2 separate regions of the Homo sapiens genome follow, and region 1 is linked to region 2. The links are contacts of gene promoters, found by promoter capture Hi-C in blood cells and fetal thymus (Javierre and others, 2016). All regions are on one chromosome and are shown on one strand. Each heading gives the region's core, a stretch centred on a gene start or on the middle of the fragment in contact. The rest is flanking DNA. Distances are from core to core; before and after follow the strand shown. Region 1 has its middle 19 kb from the start of FBXO5. Region 2 holds the start of VIP (vasoactive intestinal peptide).

Region 1 (6,118 bases), core at 2,372-4,871, 210 kb before region 2:
TATAAAGACACATGCACACGTGTGTTTACTGTGGCACTATTCACAATAGCAAAGACTTGGAACCAACCCAAATGCCCATCAATGATAGACTGGATAAAGAAAATGTGGCACATATACACCATGGAACACTACGCAGCCATAAAAAAGGATGAGTTCATGTTCTTTGCAGGGACATGGATGAAGCTGGAAACCATCAATCTCAGCAAACTAACACAAGAACAGAAAACAAAACACCACATGTTCTCACTCATAAGTGGGAGTTGAACAATGAGAACACATGGACATGAGGGGAAGGGGGTGGCATCACACACCAGGGCCTGTTGGGGCTGGGGGACTGGGGGAGGGATAGCATTGAGAGGTGACAGTGTGCTGGCAGTCCTCACAGCCCTCGCTCCCTCTTGGCGCCTCCTCTGCCTGGGCTCCCACTGTGGGGGCACTTGAGGAGCCCTTCAGCCCGCCACTGCACTGTGGGAGCCCCTTTCTGGGCTGGCCAAGGCCGGAGCCGGCTCCCTCAGCTTGCGGGGAGGTGTGGAGGGAGAGGCGTGGGTGGGGACCGGGGCTGCGCGCGGTGCTTGTGGGCCAGGGCCAGTTCCGGGTGGGCGTGGGCTCAGTGGGATTACAGTGAATCTATAGACCAATTTATACAGAACTGACATTTAGCAACCTTGAGTTTTTCAATCCATTAACATAGAGTTCTTCCACTGATTTCCATATTTCAAAATCTCTCTTAGCAAAGTTTTATCTTTTCATTGTATGTCTTGTGCACTTTACATCAGATTTATCCCTGTTTTTTGTGCTATTGTAAATGGCATTTTAATTTCAATTTTCAATGATTTATTGCTAATGTATTGAAATACAATTTATTCTTATATTGATCTTGTATTCTCCAACCTTGCAAACCTCAGTTATAATTGAAAGTCTATCACTTGTTCTCTGTAGGTGATTTTTGTCTTCTACAAATAAATACAGTTTTATTTCTTCCATTTCAATCTATATGGTTTGTATTTATCTTCCTTGCCAATTTGTACTGGCTAAAACCTCCAGTAAAATAGAAATAAAAAATGTTGATGAAGATACCCTTGCCTTGTTCCAGATGTTAGGGGAAAACATTCAGAATGATGTTAGCTGTAGGTTTTTCACATATCCTCTTATCAAGATGATGTTCCATTTTATTCCTAGTTTGTTGAGAATTTTTATCAGAAATGGCTGTTGGATTTTGTCAACTTTTTTTCTCCATCAATTCATATGACCATATGGTTATTCTCTCTGGATTCGTTAATATGAATTACACTGATTGATTTTCAAATGTTAAAGCAATCTCGCATTCCTGGGGTTAATGCCACTTCATCACAATGTATTATCCTTTTTAAACATTATTATATATTTAAATATGTATAAATATATATTTGTTAAGAATTTGTATTTATATTTATGATGAATATTGGTCTGTAGCTTTCATACAATGTCTTTGGGACATATTCTTTTCTTTTCAATTTTCTGGATGTTTGTGTAGAATTGGTATTATTTCTTCTCTTACTATTGCTGGAATTGTACAAGGGAACCATCTGAGTCTGTCATTTTCTTTGTGAAAAGATGTTTGAAATACAGTTTTTTAATAGATAAAGGGCTATTCAGGTTATCTATTTCTTCTTGAGTGAGCTTTAGTAGTTTGTATATTTCAATGCATTTTTAATTTAATTTATTGTATTTATTGGAATAAAGTCATCACAATATTCTAGTATCTTTAATATTTATAGAATGTGTATTAATGTCATCTCTTGCATTCCAATATTGATAAATTCTGTCTTTTCTCCCCTTATACTGATCAGTCTGACTACAGGTTTATCACTTAGATGGATCTCAAATAACTCATTTTTGGTTTCAGATTTTTCCCTGTTTTTCCTTATAATTGATTTTTTGTTTTATTTCTTCTGTTTCCTTGTGCCTGAAGGACTTTAATTTGCCCTTTTTCTACATTCTTTTTCTGGATTCTTAAGGTAAATGTTGAGTTCATTGATTTCAGACCCTTATTCTTTCCTAATATAAATATTTAGTCCTAAAAGTTTCCTCCAAATTCTATTCTAGCGGCATACCACTAAATCTGATATTTTGTCCTTTTCTTTTTATTCATTTGTAAGTGTTCTATAATTTTCCTTTGGATTTCTTCTTTGATGTGTAGGTTATGTATAAGTCTGTTATTTACTTTTCCAATATTCTGGAATTGTCCATATATCTTTTTATTAACTTCTAATTTCATGGTGGTCAGAGAAAACAGTTGTGTGACTCAATTCTTACAAATTTATTGAGTATTTGTTTTTGGCCTATAATACGCTCTATGAAGGGAATATGGTGTGTTTTGCTGTTCTTTGGTAAAATGACCTATAAATATCAATTGGTTCAACTTGGTTGATAGTGCTCTCCATATCTTCTATATCCTTACTGATGTCTATCTATTTGTGCTATTATTGAGTGAGAAGTATTCAGATCCCTAGCTGTAATTGTGGATTTGTCTATTTCTTGTAATTCTATCAGTTTTTGCTTTTAAGTACAGATGCTCCTCAACAATGTGGTTATGTCTGGATACACCCACTGTTTGAACTTACAGTGTGTTTATCTGTGCACAACTTCATAAGTCAAAAAGCATACTGAATGTGTATCCCTTTTGCACATTGTAAAGTTGAAAATTTGTAAGTCAGAGGCTGTCTGTATTTTGAAGCTCTGTCATTAGTTGCATAAATATTTAAGATTATTATGTTCTCTTAGTGAAATGAACACTTTATCATTTTTAAATGACCTTTTTATCCCTGGATGTGGCTTTTCTATGGAATCTACATTGTTTTATATTAAAATAAGCACTCCAGTTTTGTTTTGTTTTTTGAAATTAATATTGGCATAGTATATTTTTTCATCCATTTTTAACTTTTTTTGTAGTTTTCTATGGTAGTGTGTTTCTTACAGACAGCATATAGTCAAGTATTCATTTATTTTTTTAATCTACTTCAAAAATGTTTGTCTTTTGAGATAATTAGACAATTTTCACTTGATGGGATTATTGATATGGTTGGATTTAAACCTACTTTCTTGATATTTGTTTTCTATTTGGTAATTGTTCTTTATTCCATTTTTTTCTCTTTTTTGCCATCTTTTGATTATTTTTATGGTTCCTTTATATCTAGTTTATTAGCTAATTAGCTATAATTCTATTTTGTGATTTTAGCTATTACCTCTGGATTTATAGTATTTCTTTTTAACTTGAGTCTAGCTTCAAATATTATTGTACCCTTTTATATATAGTATAAAACTGCCATACTATTTCTTCCCTCTAAGCTTTGTGCTGTTATCATACATGTTAGTGCAATATATATGTGTATATATATACACAAATATATACATACACTACATTATTTTTGTTTCTTTGTTTATCATCTAAGATATTTATGTAATGAGAAAGTTTTCTTATACTTGTATTTGCCCACACAGTTGTCATTTCTGGTATCTTCATTCCTTTGGGTAGAAATAAATATATTTCTATCTGATAAAACTTTCCTTGTGCCTGAAGGACTTCCTTTAATTTTTCTTATAATACAGATATGCTGGTCTTTGATTTTTTTCAGCCTATGTACATGTGAAAACATCTTTATTTTTGTCATTTTGAAGTTATTTTTAATTAACAAATGATTCTATATATTTATGGGGTACATGATGCTTTGATATATGTACACACACACACACACTGTAGAATGATTTAACATATCCATCACCTCACATACTTATCTTTTTTTTGTGGTGAGAACATTTAAAAATCTATGTTCTTAGCAGTCTTCAAATATACATACAATACATTATTATTCACTATTGCCTCCATGCTTCACAGTGGATCTCCAGAACTTATTCCTCCTATCTAACTAAGCTTTTTATCCTTTAACCAATATTTCTCCATTTTCCACCTCACTATCACCCACCCTAGTCCCTGGTAACCTCCATTCTACTCTGATTTCACATAAAAGTGAGATCATTCAGTTTGTCTTTTGTCTTTCTGTGCCTGGTTTATTTCACTTAGGATGATGTCTTCCACATTCATCCATGTTGTTGCAAGACTGCCATGTGGAAGGCAAGATATCTTTCTTTTCATAAGGCTGAATAGTATCATGCTATGTATATATATCACATTTTCTTTATCCATTTATCAGTTGATAAACACTTAGGTTGACTCCATATCTTTACTATTATGAATAATACTGAAATGAACATGGAGGAGGGAATATCTCTTCATTTCCTTTGGTAACATACTGAGAAAGATAATTGTTGAATCATACAATAGTTTTATTTTTAATTTTGGGGGGAACCTCCATACTGTTTTCCAAAATAATTATGCTAATTTACATTCCCACCAACAATGTACTAGGGTTCCCTTTTCTCCACATTTTTGTTAACACTTGTTATGTTTTATTTTTTTGATAAAGACTATTCTAGTGAGACGATATCTCATTGTGGCTTTCATTTGCATTTCCCTGATTGATTATTAGTGATGTTGAACATCTTTTCATATACCTGTTGGCCATTCACATGTCTTCTTTTGAGAAATATCTATTCAGGTTCCTACCCATTTTTTAAACTGGTTGTTTTCTTGCTATTGAGTTGTTTGAGTTTCTTAAATATTTTGGATATTGGCCCCTTATCAGATATGTGGTTTGCAAATATTTTCTCCCCATCCCATAGATAGTCTCTTCACTCTGTTGATTGTTGCCTTTGGTGTGCAGAAGCTCATTAGTTTGGTGCAATCCAATTAGTCTAATATTGCTTTTGTTGCATGTGTTTTTGGGGTTGTATCCAAAAAATTTTTGCCAAATCCAATGTTAAGAAGCTCTTTCCCTCTGTTTTCCCCTAATGGTTTTATAGTTTCAGATCTTATATTTAAGACATTAACCCATTATGATTTGACTTGTGTACTTGGGACAAGATTAAGGGTCTAATTTCATTCTTCTGGGTGTTGATATCTAATTTTCCCAACATATTGAAGAGAATGTCCTTTCCTTATTGTATGTCCTTGACAGCTTTGCTGAAAATCAGTTGACTGTAAATGTGTGGGCTCTGTTTTCTATTTCTTTGGTCTATATGTCTGCTTTTATGACAGTATGGGCTGTTTTGATTATTATACGTTTTTGGTACATTTTCAAGTCAGGTATTGTGATGCCTCCAGCTTTGTTTTCCTAAAAATTGCTTTGACTATTTGAGGTCTTTTGTTTTCCTATACAAACTTTAGGGTTGTTCTTTTCTATTTCTGGGAAAAGGTCATTTCACTTTTGACAGGGATTGCACTGAATCTGTAGATCACTGGGGTAATATGGACATTTTAACAATGTTAATTCCTCCAATCCATGAATACTGTATATATTTTCATTTGTTTTTCTCTTAAATTTATTTCATCAATGTTTTATAATATTCAGTGTATGGATCTCTCATACACTGAATGTATTTGGTTAATTTTATTTTTGGTTAAATGTATTTCTAAGTTTTTCATTAATGCTATCACAAATAGGATTGTTTTCTTGATTTCTTTTGTGAATAGTTTGTTGTTAGTGTATAGCAATGATACTAATTTTAATATGTTAATTTTGTATCCTGCAACTTTACTGAAATCAAAGCCAGTCAAGGACATTACAAAAAAAGACAATTATAGGCCAAAATCTCTGGTGAACATACATGCAAAAATCCTCAACAAAATACTAGTAAACTGAATTCAATAAGACATTAATAGGGTTATTCACCAAGTTTTTCACTTGATTTTGTGCTGCTATAACAGATTATCTGAAACGGGGTAATTTATAATGAACAGAAATTTATTGGCTCACTGTTCAGAAGGCTGAGAAGTCCAAGATCAAGGGGCTGACATTTGACAGGGACCTTTTTTGCTGCACTCTTTTATGACAAAAGGGCAAAGAAAATGCAAGAAGGCTGGGCGCGGTGGCTCACGTCTGTAATCCCAGCACTTTGGGAGGTCGAGGCAGGCGGATCACCTGAGGTCAGGAGTTCAAGACCAGCCTGGGCAACCTGATGAAACCCCGTCTCTACTAAAATACAAAAATTAGCCGGGTGTGGTGGTATGCACCTGTAATCC
Region 2 (5,649 bases), core at 1,519-4,018:
AATTCAATAAGTTTTATGGGGCCTTCTTTTTTCTAATCTTATGTATTAACACAACTTTAATAAGGGATGTACAATGTTACACTGAAAGACTAAGAATAGTCAAATGCATATATGGAATATGACTATATTTATGGATGCATGCATATTTCAATCACCGGCAACTCTTATAATTTTGTGTGTGCAGATTTTCACTGTTAGGGCAAACATCCAAGGAGCGTGTCAGCTCCTGGACACTTGTGTATCTTTCAGTGATTTGGGAGTTGGGAGTCACTAGCAACTAGTCCTCTGTGGGTCTGAAGCTTAGCAATCAACACAAATGTCCACATTCTTGTGATTGTTCATCTGCTGTGGTAGAACTATTCAGATAGAACCATTTTGTTTAGTTATCAAAGCAACGCAGGAGCTGTATTTAAACAGATTTCACAGAGAACACTAATAGCTAAGAGGTTATTCTCTCTGTTGAGCATAAGTCTACCTTAAGCAAAAAATCAAGAATGACCTAATAAGCAAAGAAGGAAACCAACCCAATTATTATTTTTCCTTTGGAGATACAGTGGTGCCCGTAAACTGAAAGGAAAATTCAAGCTAATATAGTTTTCATTTATTGTTTACTTCTTTAGCATACATTAATAAAGTTTTAAATAAGAGTTGTGTTATACTTTATGGATTTGGAATATATAATATAACATATAGAACAATAAAACTAAGGATTTATGGTCCAAACAAAGTATATCAAAATTTTCCTATTGGGGGAGTGTATCTCAATAGATCAATTACCCCATATTTAATATTGGCAAATTGACTCTGCCTAGATAGATTTCTGTGCAACATGATTTTATACATGTTTCACTAATCAACTACTAGTCTTATGATTATTTACTGATTAATCTTGAAAATAAACTCAAATGTGGTTGGCAACTAAACAGCTTTTTTCCACCAGAAATTGAACTGACTTGAGATAACAATGGATAAAAGCTTATTATTTATCTAAAGATGGTTTTGAATAAAAAGAAAGTGAAAGCCTCCTTTCACCATGTTTGGGAATGTGATCCACTCAGCCCATAAAACTAATAACTGACAGTGTCTCTCATGCCCTGAAAGTGAATTCCAGGACTCAGAATGACCTGATGTTGACAAACACCTCTCACTCAACACATCAAGGAAAAATTTAAATACATAATACATAATTTATACTATTTAGTTGTCCAACAAAATGTATAGGAAATTCCCATTTAGATGAGGAAGGAATGTTCAGATGTTTGAATTGAAAGGGAACTTACCTGAGAGCAGAAGGTGCCCTGTAAAGAGGCCATGCCGAAGTCTGTGAGAAGAGCACACTGAGAAGAGTCAGGAGCACAAGGAGCTGGGCCTTATTTCTGGTGTCCATTTCTGTGCCTCTAAAGAGAGAGAATCACCTCAGTTCTTCCAGCCAAAGATGTCACCAGCAAGGTAATTCTGATTGTCTAGCAGTAATTTTCAATGGCTCTTGCAGAGTTTGTAAAGAGTAATTTTCATCTTGTAGAAAGAGTTAAATTGCAAGATGATACATTCAAAAATCAGTATTTCTCTCAGTGACAGGTGCTTGAATAAAAATTAGAATCCTTTTCACCTGCTGTCTGGGCACATGGTTGGCCCCAGTATCTATTGAATGCCATACTTCTATAGTGCTGGAAATAACCCTGGGGACAATCTTTTCATAACAGGGATGTACCACTCAAGCTTAGTGTATTTTTTGACGAAGGAAACAGCTTCAAGACATTGATTTTCTTCTGCTTTAAAATTTCAGTATCTGACTAATATAAGACTAGAGTATCATCTATTTAATAATTATTCTGCTCGTGTGTGTGCAAATGTATAAATATAATGTGTATATATACATATAATTTTAAAAAAGATTTTGTATATACATTACTTTTTCCTCTTTCAATTGTAGATATTACGGAAACTTATTTCCTTACACCTGGATTTGAACTTCTTAACTCAGTAGTGAATATTAATACTCAAAATATTACTGAATCATATGTTGTCATTGAAATAAATTTTTCCATAAGAGGAAAATATATATTAAAAGCAAAGCTTGCATTTCTTGCATTTAATCAACTTACACATTTCATTTCTAGTTTCTAGATTAAAAGCCTAGGAGTAAGGTCTGTTTCTCTTGCTGCCTATAAAAATTATGGAATTTAAACTTAAGGAAAAAATAAATGCATCTTAGATTCACTTAACCAACATACGAAATAGGAAAAAAAAAGCACTTTAAAAATAAGTTGAAAATTTCAAAAGCAAATGTTCCCACTGAAATTTTCAGTCAAAAATCTACATACAAGTAAACTTTACTTGAATGAATTATTTGTAAAAATCAGTATTCAGTAAAAGAGCAAGCAGGGTAAAGCATCTTACAAACAAAAGAATTCAGAAAATCTATCCATATGAGAGAAATTGAAGTATTTCTATCCTTACCAGGTGACTTGAGAAACTTGTTTTTTGCTGTTGCAAAAGCAAAGCACTATCAAATTCTTTTCAAGAGAGAAAAATTCATTATTTTGTGAGAAAAGTTCCAGAGGCAGGAGGGAAAAAGAAGAGGAAAGGTAAAGTTTTCACTTACCTCGCCCAGTCGTGCTCCCCCGGAGCTGACTGTTCTGGTTTGTTTTGGAGCTGTCTTAGGTGCTGAAGTCCTGGGAGTAAGAGAAAGGCTCCACCAGTTCTCTGCCCTTAGCAATGGCTAAGGGTTGGCTGTTACTGCCTGCTGGTGCTTCTCACTCTACCCTGACCAGCATTTCAAAGCCCATCATTTTATAGGGCTTATACTTAGGACTGAGCAATCACAAAGTGCTCTGAAAGACGTCACAGTATGACGGCCATGGGATGAATAGGGCTTGAAGTTCTTACTTAATTGTCATTATGCCTAATTTATATAAGTTTATAGTGAGCAACTTCAAAATGTAAGATAAGAGGAAATTTACTTTTCTTTAAACAAACAAAGTAGCAAGCTCAATGTGAAATGTTTTAACCTTTAATTAATTGTAAAATAAGAAAATGATTGTAGTGTTATAGCCAGGGCCATTGGGATTCCTTCAGAAAATAAAGACTTCATGTGTAGAAACAAATGCATAAAGCAACAAACACTTATGTTCATTACGCTTATAAAAGTATAATTATACTTTATTACAAAGTATCAATTCTCTTAATATTTTTAATTTTTATGCTATTCATATAGTTCCAGATTTAATCTTTCTTGAAATCTATCCTAACTTTAAAAGCTCTAGAGATAATTTTCACCTTCCTATTATTACATTTCGTCTTTGTTGAAACTAATTCCAAGATAAGTGTTTCAGAAAGTCTCTAAGATAGTAAGATATGCACGCTGTTGTACAAAGCAGTACAAGTAGTGCTATTTCATATTTGTATAAAATGGCACAATTCCCAATGCACTTTTACATACACTGTGTCAAATGATCCAAAAAATAAATTGTTGTCAGGCTATATACCTCAAGGAATTTAATTGTCTTTTCTTTTTAAAGATTTTCCTCATCACTTTTATAAGTCTTTGCATAATGTAGAATTAGTTTTCTACCCTCATCCCCAACACACACACATACTCAAACCAGTTTTGAACATTTCTGATTCAATCACTTGACAGGTGGCTTCAAATAGTTGAAAAGCATTTATATAGTACTTTGATAAATACTTCACTTCTATTTGTGGATTTGTAACTAAAGGTAGTCTAGCACACATTCAATCAGAGTTTAAGGTAAAAATGCAGCCACATGAAAAATTTCCTAAACAACAGAGGAAAATGCCATTTTTCCTTTTATTTTAAAGGCTTTCTGCCATGTGTATTATTTTTACATTTTGTTTCTAAGTTTCATAAGACAGAATGGCTTTACAGTCCTCTTTCTTCTACTTTAAGATTGTAGTATCTATTTCCTTCGTTCAAAGTCAGACTGATCCAGTAAAAGAATATCCTGCTATGCTTAATCATATTTTCTAATCCAGTTACCAGAAAAATTAAATGAATTAAGTTTCAAAATGTCTGGAAATTTGTTTCCCAGTTGACAGCTCTGACTTAAGCCAGAGTTCCTGTGGCTTAATTCCAGGAAATCTTTTTTACCTGATTATTACAAACTAGAGGTTGAAACAGTTCTCATATGGAATTTTTTTATCCTTAGCTCTTCATCACCCAATTCTTAGTGAACCAATTTTATTTAAGAGCAGAAACAGCAAAGCAACTTAATTGAGGGTCACAGACAAATGACTGCTGAATGATAAGAAGAAAAATTTTAAACATAAAAGATGTAAAGCTGATCATTATTTGGCCTAGGCAAGCACTTAGCATTTACAAAGAGTAACTATAGTAGCTTTTCCCAATACAAAAGACAATTGCTTCTATTATAATAATAATAAGATAAAATAAAAAGAAATAATTCAATTTTATTACCTCTGAATAAAAGTAAACTCAACCAAACAACTGCATTTTCTCTTATGAATTTAAACTAGAAAGCAAAACAATTTGAAAATGGAATCATAGCACCATCTGCAGGTTCAAAGTTTTAATTCACAGACTTTATAGAATTGTGTTTATTTCTTCTTTTCTTTCAAGGAAATGAATTGTAAACCAGAGGTCCTGTAGCCAGCTTAACTTTTGGATGCTTCCAGAAAAAATAAACATAAGAAAAAGTACTGCAGTCAAATTTATCCTGAATTCTCGGTTACCATAAAACTTAGTAAATAAGTACAAAGATACAAACTTGAATTTACTGTTTAAATGTGTCTTTTCCGTACTTTGACATATTCTTCCATAATTTGCCTACATTTCTGGCAAAGTTTATTTTTGCCTTAGGCCTTCTCAGTAAAGTGATGTTTGTAATAAGGGGAACTATAATTCATTCACATGGATAGAAAAATCTTCAAGATCCTTCTTTTACAAATAAGTAAACTGATCTCCAGAAAGTTTCAGTAATTTTTGCCACTCAGGTGGTTAATAACAAATACGAGATTGGAAGATAGACCGTCTGATTTTGAGTCAGCATTCTTTCAATTTAGAATTGGTAATATTCTGTAATTGTTGCTATCACCTTTTTGATGCTAGCAGGTCAGATATGGAAATTGACAGCTCATAAAAATATTGGCATCTCCTCTCCCCTTTTTTCACCAACAGAACCAAGAGCAGGGAAATAAAACTGGCATTCTAAATTCAAACATACTGGATGCAAGGAAATTAGATGGAAGGGATTTTCAAGCTCAGGATATTAGCAGAAATCCAAATTTGCCTTTTTTTCTTTAGTGCAAAATACTAATAGAGGGTCCATATTCTTATTATGGATTAAATGCCTAAGCTTGTGCTCTTCTGCCTCTTTTTATGGTGGTTTTACCTGCCTAATTCACCCTATTTCACCTCCAGTCCTGAGACTTAGCCAATGTCTGCGTTGGTAATCCTGAGTGGGTAAGTCTAGATCAGAGGTCTGGAAACTACAGGCTGTGAGCTAAATAGACTGACCCCTCTGGATTTTGTTTGTTTGTTTCTTCATTCATTTGTTTTTGTTTGTTTACATCTCTCAAGCTAAGAATGATGTTTATATTTTTAAATGGTTAAAAAAATTAAATGAACTTTTTGTGACACATGACAATTATACGTTATTATTTTATTTT

What was found. The method cuts DNA at HindIII sites, captures the fragments that hold promoters and counts their contacts. A CHiCAGO score of 5 or more calls a contact.
Region 1: a contact is called between a fragment that was not itself captured here and the fragment with the promoter of VIP in region 2, in 1 of 17 cell types (megakaryocytes). The highest score is 5.6, in megakaryocytes.

Annotation. Positions count from the first base shown.
Region 1 is chr6:152,960,727-152,966,844 of GRCh38, reverse strand. No RefSeq gene overlaps it. Among named protein-coding and RNA genes, the nearest start is that of FBXO5, 19 kb to the left of the region's middle. The HindIII fragment of the contact is 583 bases long and covers 3,330-3,912 here.
Region 2 is chr6:152,747,916-152,753,564 of GRCh38, reverse strand. VIP (vasoactive intestinal peptide) reads right to left here and starts at 2,768. Exons shown (of 7, transcript NM_003381.4): 1 at 2,606-2,768; 2 at 1,281-1,397. The coding sequence starts at 1,387. The HindIII fragment of the contact is 3,260 bases long and covers 2,079-5,338 here.